Linked DNA regions of Homo sapiens: region 1 is linked to region 2. Evidence: promoter capture Hi-C in human tissues and cell types (Jung and others, 2019). All regions are on one chromosome and are shown on one strand. The core of a region is centred on a gene start or on the middle of the fragment in contact, and the rest is flanking DNA. Distances in the headings are between cores, read along the strand shown.

Region 1 (4,566 bases), core at 766-3,265, 270 kb after region 2:
AGAAATGGTGTGGCTTAAATCACCTCGCCTCTGAAAGAAATTTGTATCTTTGATGTTTGGGGATATTGACGTTCTTCAGGAGATTTGAAAGGGTAGCTCCTAGAAATATCTTGGAATGCCATTATTCCTTACAGGGTTGTCAAAAAAAGCTACCATTGTTATACTTGTCCAGGAGATATGAGTTACAGTGCTAAACGAAAGAGTTCATAGTGTCCTTTCCAGAAGTTCATTGAATCTCATCAGAGCTCCTGAAGTGGATCTTAAAAACTAGGATGGTCGGCTGGGTGCGGTGGCTCATGCCTGTAATCCCAGTACTTTGGGAGGCCAAGGTGGGTGGATCATGAGGTCAGGAGTTTGAGACCAGCCTGGCCAACATAGTGAAACCCCGGCTCTACTAAAAATACAAAAATTAGCTGGGTGTGATGGTATGCAGTTGTAGTCCTGGCTACTCGGGAGGCTGAGGCAGGAGAATTGCTTGAACTGGGGAGGTAGAGGTTGCAGTGAGCTGAGACTACACCATTGCATTCCAGCCTGAGTGATAGAGCGAGACTTTGTCTCAAAAACAAAACATAAAACAAACAAAAACAACAACTACAAAAAAACAAAAACTAGGATGGTTGATAATCAATAGTCACCTATTTGCAGGCCTTTCAGATTTGAGAGTATTTGTCCAATTCTTGCACTTTTGGTGCTGAGTTGATATCAGAGTGGCCCCAGATAAGGCATCGGGAGAAGAAGTGTTGTTAGCTCTGTGTTCATCCCCTACTGAGTTCATCACTGTTGATATTGAAGATGGAAGCTTTTGGTAAAAGATAGGGCCATTTACCCTAAATCTAAAGAGAATGTAAAGATTTATTTGTTTTTCATTCTGGTTTGTGTCTGTCCTAGAGCTTCTCTAAGCTGGGAAACTTATGCCTTTGATAGTACTTTTATATCTTAGTCATATATCAGAAAAACATTCTCATACCTGGAGATCCACCCCACGGAGTTTCTGATTGGGTAAGTGTAAGATTGGGCTTACCCATTCAAATGTTTAAAAATCCCAAAGGTGATTCTGCTGTGTAGTGCGGTTGAGAACTACAGTCCTATGGGCTGCTTTAAAAGCAGTGACAGTTTCTGTTTCATCCTGTACTTTTCACTTAGGACATGTAATAAAGGGGTCGTGGTTAGTCTCTTAATCTAGTCTTGCAAACTAATGCAGTTACTTTATTATTTATAAAATGTTGCTTATTGTGGATTTAGGAAGGTAAAGCTAATTGATGTAAAGTATGGAAATAGACTTACTGAGTTTAGAAGACTGAAAGGGTACTGTATTCTTCTTGTGGGGATTATAGATCAATAAGGAGCTAAGCAAAAGGAGTTAATAGGAATTTATTAAAGCCTAAAAAAGTAGTCTCTTTGATTGTACCTACTTTTTCTTTCTTTTGCAGTAGGGGCCCACTTCTGTAACCTGCACATTCATTACTCATGCTGTCTCTGCTGCAGGCCTGTTACAGACCCTTTGCCATGGTTTAAAGCTGCTGATTTACTTTGAGGCACATTCTGATGGTGACAGGTTTATTTTAGTTTATTTTCTTGGGCTTTAATTTGTACTCTGGTTGGATCTTTGAATTAGAGATCTTAGAGTGTGCAAATAGGCAAATATTGAATAGCTGCTTGTTGTATTTGATGAATACAGAATCCAAATGAGTACTGCTAATTAATGCGCCTAACCTTGTGAACTCTCACTTTGCGTTTTGAGATTTGGGAGGCATTTATCAGCGTGAAACACTGGTCGCTGAACAGTCTGAGCTGGCGGAAATGGAACTTGTGATCTTTACGTCTCCTCAGCATGGTTTTGGCTCAGCAAATCGAGGAACTGGGGAATGGGGTGAAGGTGAATTTTAATTGTGCTTTTGTTTGCTTTCCCTTTTTTTTTTTTTTTTTTTTGTTGTTGTTGGTTTGGTTTGGTTTTTGAGACAGGGTCTTGCTCTGTCACCCATACTGGAGTGCAGTGGCATGAACATGGCTCACTGCAGCCTTGACCCCTGGGGTGCAAGTGATTCTCCCACCTCAGCCTCCTGAGTAGCTGGGACCACAGGTGTGTGCCACCACACCCGGCCTGTTTGCTTTCCTTATTCTTTCACTGTTCCTTCCTAAATAGATGAGAACCATCTGCAGACAAGATTCTTATCAGTGGCTGAATGGTGATTTAAAAAGAGATAACTCTTTTGATTGTTTTGGACCACTTTCATTGTATTTTCTCATCTTATTCTCCCAAACACCCCTTTTGAAGTAGATGAGGCAAATATTCCCTCTGGAAAGATGAGGAAATTGAAGCACACAGAGGTAAAGTGACTTATCCAAGGCAACAATTCAAGTAAGTAGCTAAATAAGAGCTGAAATTTCCCCTTCTGTCTGAGGGTCCTTTTCTCTGTACTGGAGAATTATTGATTGACCATAGGAAAATGTGGTCACGTGTGAATGTGCCCATTCACTCATTTACATTATTTTATTTACCATGTGGGGGCTTCGTAGACTTCTTCAAGCTCAACCACAGATGTAGAAGTCTGTGACTCCTGATTAAAGATTATTACTACTAAGTTTGTTAGCACCAAGTGTACCACCAGCATTTCACTTTTTTAGTGATTCTTTTGTCATGTTATATACAGTCCCAATAGCACATTGGAGTTAAACACCTGAAGGAAAGGAGCAGGGAAAACCACCCGCCACCTCTTGCATGTTTATGCAAGGTCACCTCAGCCTTCTTTCTTGATCTATTAAGAAGCTTTATGGGATGACAATCCATTGCTTTTATAAAGCACTCTGAGCATTTCACTATACTTTCTAATGTGGTTTCTCTATGGAAGTGGAGGAGACAAACATTGTTCCAGTTTTACATAAGTGAAAACTAGTTCAGAAAAGTGAGAAATTTTATCTAAGGCCATGCAGGACCAAGTGCAGTGGCTTACATCTATAATCCCAGCACTTTGGGAGGCCAAGGCAGGAGGATTGTTTGAGCTCAGGAGTTGGAGACCAGCCTGGGCAACATAGCAAGACCTTGTCTCTACTAAAAATAAAAAAAATCAGCCGGGTGTAGTGGTGTGTGCCTGTAGTCCCAGCTACTCGGGAGGCTGAGGTGGGAGGATTGCTGGAACCTGGGAGATTGAGGCTGTGGTGAGCTATGATTGTGCCACTGCGCTCCAGCCTGGGTGACAGAACAAGACCCTGTCTCAAAAATAAATGAATAAATAAACCCAGGCAGGATTTTAGATTGATGATACAATGTAGTGGTTTAGATTCCTAGTTGACTGTTTGTGATTTGTGCATGTGCTTAGGCGTGTTCCCAGGCCTTGATTAAGGCTAGAATGTTTTATGGATTTGCAGTATTTTTAAAGTGGGAGAATACTTATGTGCATCAGCTCTAGGGTTTTTATATAAGAAGAGCTTAAGAGCAGCAATCTGATTAGAAGAGGGCCTTGTTCTGCACAGCAGCCTTACTGTTTTTGCGAAGATTATTTATATGGGATGGCTCTTAGGGGTTTCCTAGAAAGTGATGGGGGTCCTAAGGCTCCTAAGGCTGGCCCCTCGCTCGCTTTTGGTGCAACAACTTTATGTCTGTTATAAATAAGGTGACCATATAAACTTTAGCATTCAAGTTGGGGCACTTTTGAGAATAAAAAGTGATGCCAATAATTAGTTTCAAACAGTCCCAGGTAAACTGGGATGTATGGCCATCCTTCTCTAATTGAAGAAATACAGTCAGTGTTTTCTTAACCAAAGTGATCAGAACTAGTAGGCCGTGGGTTAATCTAAACAATTGGTTGAAGTGGGGAAATATTTTAAACTTTTATTTTAATATAGAGCATTTTTAATTTAAACAAATATATGCTTACTCTTTAGTTTCCTGATATGAGGTCAAGATCCTTATATATAGATGTGATTGAAATACTACTTGAATTTTTTGCATAAACTGTGCTCCCAGAGCATCATCTGTGAGTTCTAATTTGTTTTTTTTTTTAAAGAGGAACACGGTCTTGATGACATTCAGAGCAATTTGGGTGAAACTGTCTATCTAGATTTGTATGGTTTTCCCTTCTTGCCCGGTCTTTTACAGTTATCCTGCCCACATCTAATTTGAGCCTAAGTTTTCAGTGTCTTGACTTATTTTTCACAAAGCATTCACATTAGTTATTTTCAAGGAAATTTTCTAATTTATTTCATTGATGTGTGTATATATATATATATATATATATATATAACATTTAATTATATAATTATAAGAACTTACGACTTCTATAAACTGGCAGGTGAATAAACACAAGTGATTTTTGGTAAGCATACAACTCAGCTACTGGGAGAAGAAAGGGCTTGGGGGCAAATAGGAGAGAGTTGTTTACTAGTTTTAGGTGGTTTAAGACTGTTAAAAGCGTCCCTTTATTAGACTTGGGAACTGGAGAACATTAGTTAATTTAACAAGTTAATTGATTAAAAGAGGCTTATACTTTAATCAACCACAGGGAAGACTTACTTTTGTTTCATCAATTTTGTATCTCCTTAGTGGTTACTTGACTAAATTTTGTTCTA
Region 2 (4,369 bases), core at 1,349-3,848:
AGCTCAGATGGGTTCACAAAGCTCTCTGGGCTCAGCTCTGTTTTAGACTGCTGAGACATGGCCAGGTGACCCCAGAAGGAAGGTTTGTGTTGGGGGTGCCCATCTCTTTGGGAAATTTGAAGGAATCAAAGAAGGTGGAGGTGGGGAGGTGACCTGGAGCCCGGTCTGTCCTTATGGTCTGGCCACAACCAGGCTGGCCCCGGGGTGCGGCTGCTGAGGCCTGATGAGGCAAGAGATTTCTTTTGAGATACAAGGAACCTAGAGGTCATCTCACCCACCCTGAGTCTGAGCACCTACTTGTGCCAGGCCCTGTGGGGAAACTGAGGCCCTGGGAGGGGAGTGACTTGCCCAGGGTCCAGTGTCAGGAGGCTGAGCAGGTAGATCATAGGACTCCATGTCTGTGGCCCTCACCTCTGTCCCTCTGTTCAGACCTCTGGGGTGATGGAGAAGAAACAGGCTGTGCTGTGTCCCTAATGGGAAACTGTAGGGAGACCCCCTGAAACTATTGCTACGGAATAAAAGATGAAATGCTCCTGATTATTGTAAATACAAAATTGCATGCAGGATTGTGTAAAGACAATGCCAGGTTGGACTGCCAGAACGAACCAACAGCACGTGATGTGCTTCCCCCTGCAGAGAGCCTATGAATGGATGCAGGGGGGCGCCTGTCCATATGGACAAGCTAGGGCTATAAATGCTATCATCTTGCCGTGGCTCTTCTAGGCATCTTTAGGGTTCAGGTATACTCCCTTCTGAGAATTTCTAGTCTAACCGGTTATCTAGCTTCACGTCCTGTTTCCATGGATTGTCAGTAACCAGCTTTTGTTGCAATTGTTACTGCTGATTAATATCTTGCTAATCATAGGTTATGGAAAGATTGTGTTTCTGTTTTAAGGCTCTGTTAGAAATTACTGACGCACACACTATATTGTAAATTCTTATCTCTGTATACTGTACTTCTACATACAAATGCACTGTACTTCTACATACGAATGTTATGTTAAAGAATTACTTCATCCCCATGTGACCATCCCACCTCGTAATCAAATGACCCTAAATCCCTCACTAACCTACCCCCGCCCTCACTAAACTGAATAATAAATGCTGGTATATCCAGTGCATTGTTGACCAGAAGGCGGTGACCCCCCTGGACCCAGCTTTCACTATCTTGTGTGTGTCTATTATTTCTCAACCTGCCGATCCGCCTAGGAGCAAAGAGAGAGCCCCGTTGCACTGGGGGCTGCTGGCCAGATCCCGCAATAGGAAACATGGCTGAGACAGGGGAGTGAGAAGGTCGCATTGCAGAATGGTGCCTGTGGCATGACGCCAGCTTTGTAATCATGAGATTCAAAAGCCACCTGTGGAATTGTGAGTGTAACTACAGGAGTGAGAGCTTAGATCTCTGTGTTTGTAGAAGCAGAATCAAACCTGGACACTGTTGGATTACTAAAATCACCCGTTTTTCTTCAATAGCAGAGTCACAAGGGCAGATGTTGGCTTCCCGTCTGCTCTCCAAGAGCTGTGCGACTCTGGGCAAGTCACCTCCCCTCCCAGCCTAAGATTTTCCCCTCTCAGAAACCTGATAGAGCTGCCAAAAGTCCATGAAATCAGGGGGGTAATTTCTGTGAAATCTGAGTCGTGGTCTTATTTTTCTTTTTCTTTTTTTTTTTTTCTTTTTTCTGAGATGGAGTCTCGCTCTGTTGCCCAGGCTGGAGTGCAGTGGCGCAATCTCTGCTCACTGCAAGCTCCGCCTCCCGGGTTCACACCATTCTCCTGCCTCAGCCTCCCGAGTAGCTGGGACTACAGGCGCCCGCCACTACACTCGGCTAATTTTTGTATTTTTAGTAGAGATGGGGTTTCACCATGTTAGCCAGGATGGTCTCCATCTCCTGACCTTGTGATCTGCCTGCCTCGGCCTCCCAAAGTGCTGGGATTACAGGCGTGAGCCACCGCTCCCGGCCTGATTTTTCTTCACCAAAAAGAGATGCCCATCAAGATAGAAAGCACTATAGCTGAAGCCTGTAATCCCAGTGCTGTGGGAGGCAGAGGCGGGAAGATCACTTGAGGCCAGGAGTTCAAGACAGCCTGAGAAACACAGGAGATGCTGTCTCTATGAAATCAAAAATTAACAAATTAGCCCAGCATGGTAGCGTGCACCTGTAGTCCCAGCTACTCAGAAGGTTGAAGGAGGAAGATCACTTGAGCCCAGCAGATCTAGGCAGCAATGAGCTAGGATGGCGTCAAAGCCCTGCAGCCTGGGTGACACAGCAAAACGGTTTATTAAAAATGAAATGAAAATGGTGATTTCTCAGGAGGAGCACACTGTCTCAACCCCTCTTTTCCTGCCCAAGGAGGAGGCCCCGCAGCGACATGGAGGGAGCTGCTTTGCTGAAAATCTTTGTCGTCTGCATCTGGTGAGCTTGGCTCAGAGCCCTGAGGTGGGAGGGAGGGCTCCCTGTCTGGGCTGCACAATTGGGCAGGGCTTGGGCTGGGCCAGGAGCCATGTGGGTTTTTCTAGGAACCAAAATCACTTCCCGGAATTGACCAACTGGTAGACTCGCCTAGAGGGGACGCACTGTGTCCTAGTTGAGGCTAACAGTCAGTATCCAGCCTCAACATTCAGCAGAGGCCCCAGATCAGCGTCTGAGCCAGGCCAACAATGACCAAGGAGGATGGGATCCTGGGTGCAGCTCATCACAAGCGTCGGGTGAGTCCGAGGCCCCAGCTCTCTGCCCTCCTGCTCCTCTGCTCTCTCCTGGTCCTCCCAGTTCTACTGGCTCATGGTGTTGAGATGGTTGCCTTGGCCTAGGGGGTCACACAGTGAACAAAGCAGGAAGAAGGCGAAGGGATGCCCCTCTCCTGTCACCCCTGTCCCTTACAGCAAGAAGCGCCCAGACGCCCCTCTGCATACTCCCCTGGTGAATGCTGCCCAGGACTGGGTCCCCCTTTTACCCTTGTTGCATGGGGGCCCCAGAAGACAGACATCTGTGTGTCTGAACCCTGAGACAAAGGCAGGAAAGGGAAAGAGGGAGGCGAGTGGCTTTTGAGGAGGGGGCTTTAGTATGAGAGCTGGAGGATGGAACCCCATCAGGGGGCCCGGGAACCACTGAGCTGTTAAAATAAAGTCTGCAAACAAAGACCAGCTGCTGGAAGTGGGTGTGCCAGGGAGTGCGCAGAGACACACGGTGAGAAAAGAACAATGGTAATGCTTGGAGCCGCCCCTAACTGGGATGGGCCTGAAATGGTATTGTTATTATTTATAGTATCATTATTAGTCATTTTCATCTTATTTGTACCCTCCCTCTATCTCTCCTCTCCACCTTTTCCTAACATTCTATCACCAGTTTTATGTCTTCCATTAGCAACTTTGTAGCTGTAAACAATTTACTTACAACTTTCTTATACCCTCAGTTGTACCCAGTATTTCTTAACTTCCATCTTTAAAAAATGACAATATTAATCCTCCTTCTCCTTTGTTCAGTGCTTCACATCTCAACTGCTACCTTCGTGCCTTAAAGTTTGTACTAATTGGTATTGATAACAAGATATTTAGTTCTCAAATTTACATGTTGTGTATATATTTTTTGTCCTGATAAAGAGACTACTGAGAGCCAGTAAGACTGAAAGAATGGGCATCTTCATATACTGCTAGTTTGAGTGTGAATTGGTACAATTTGCATGTAGTGTGGCTCTAGGTATAAAACATTTTGAGATGTTGATACCCTCTGACCTAGTCATTCTACTCCTACAAATATCTTAAGGAAATAAAATCAAATGTGGGCAGTTTTACGTGAAGGAGGGTGTTCTTTGTAGCATAATTTACATGAAGAATTAGAAACACCCTAAGGTCCATCAGCTAGGGGAGGACAGCAGAGGGAACAGGGCAGCGCCAGGAGGGCTCGGCAGCCACAGCAGGGGCTAGGCCGGCATCTGGCAGGATCCAGGTCTTTGTGGGACAAAGGATCTTAGAGAAGCAAGGGGGACACAGGCTGTCCACTGCAGCACCAGTGAATTCACCAAGACGAAAAGTTGAGCACGGAGTGTGAGACATGGATTTGCAATGAGGAGTCATTTACCATGAGCGTGTATACATGACTCAATATTGTATATTTAAGGGAGTAGAGCACAGTCATTGAAGACATGAGGTTGAAGCAGAAGTCCTGGCTCTAGCAATAGAAAACACTGGCAAGTTCCCTAACTTTTGTGGATTCCTCTGTGTTCAAATGGGAAAGTGGTACCCATCTCCCGGGCTGTGTGTGATCATTGAATGAGACACATGTCAGAAGCCCTGCACATCACAGGCCCGGCGCGACCGCTCACGCCTGTAATCCCAGCACTTTGGGAGGCCGAGACGGGCTGATCATGAGGT

What was found. Contacts are between HindIII fragments. The study calls those that stand out against the background at their distance.
Region 1: a contact is called between a fragment that was not itself captured here and the fragment with the promoter of APOL4 in region 2, in 2 of the 25 tissues and cell types used here (bladder and heart left ventricle).

What each region holds. Positions count from the first base shown.
Region 1 is chr22:35,933,601-35,938,166 of GRCh38, reverse strand. The region is part of intron 2 of RBFOX2 (RNA binding fox-1 homolog 2); the gene reads left to right. Among named protein-coding and RNA genes, the nearest start is that of RBFOX2, 93 kb to the left of the region's middle. The HindIII fragment of the contact is 3,459 bases long and covers 286-3,744 here.
Region 2 is chr22:36,200,038-36,204,406 of GRCh38, reverse strand. APOL4 (apolipoprotein L4) reads left to right here and starts at 2,598. Exons shown (of 4, transcript NM_001386885.1): 1 at 2,598-2,707. The coding sequence starts at 2,673. RefSeq lists an enhancer at 2,123-2,622. The HindIII fragment of the contact is 28,208 bases long and covers 1-4,369 here.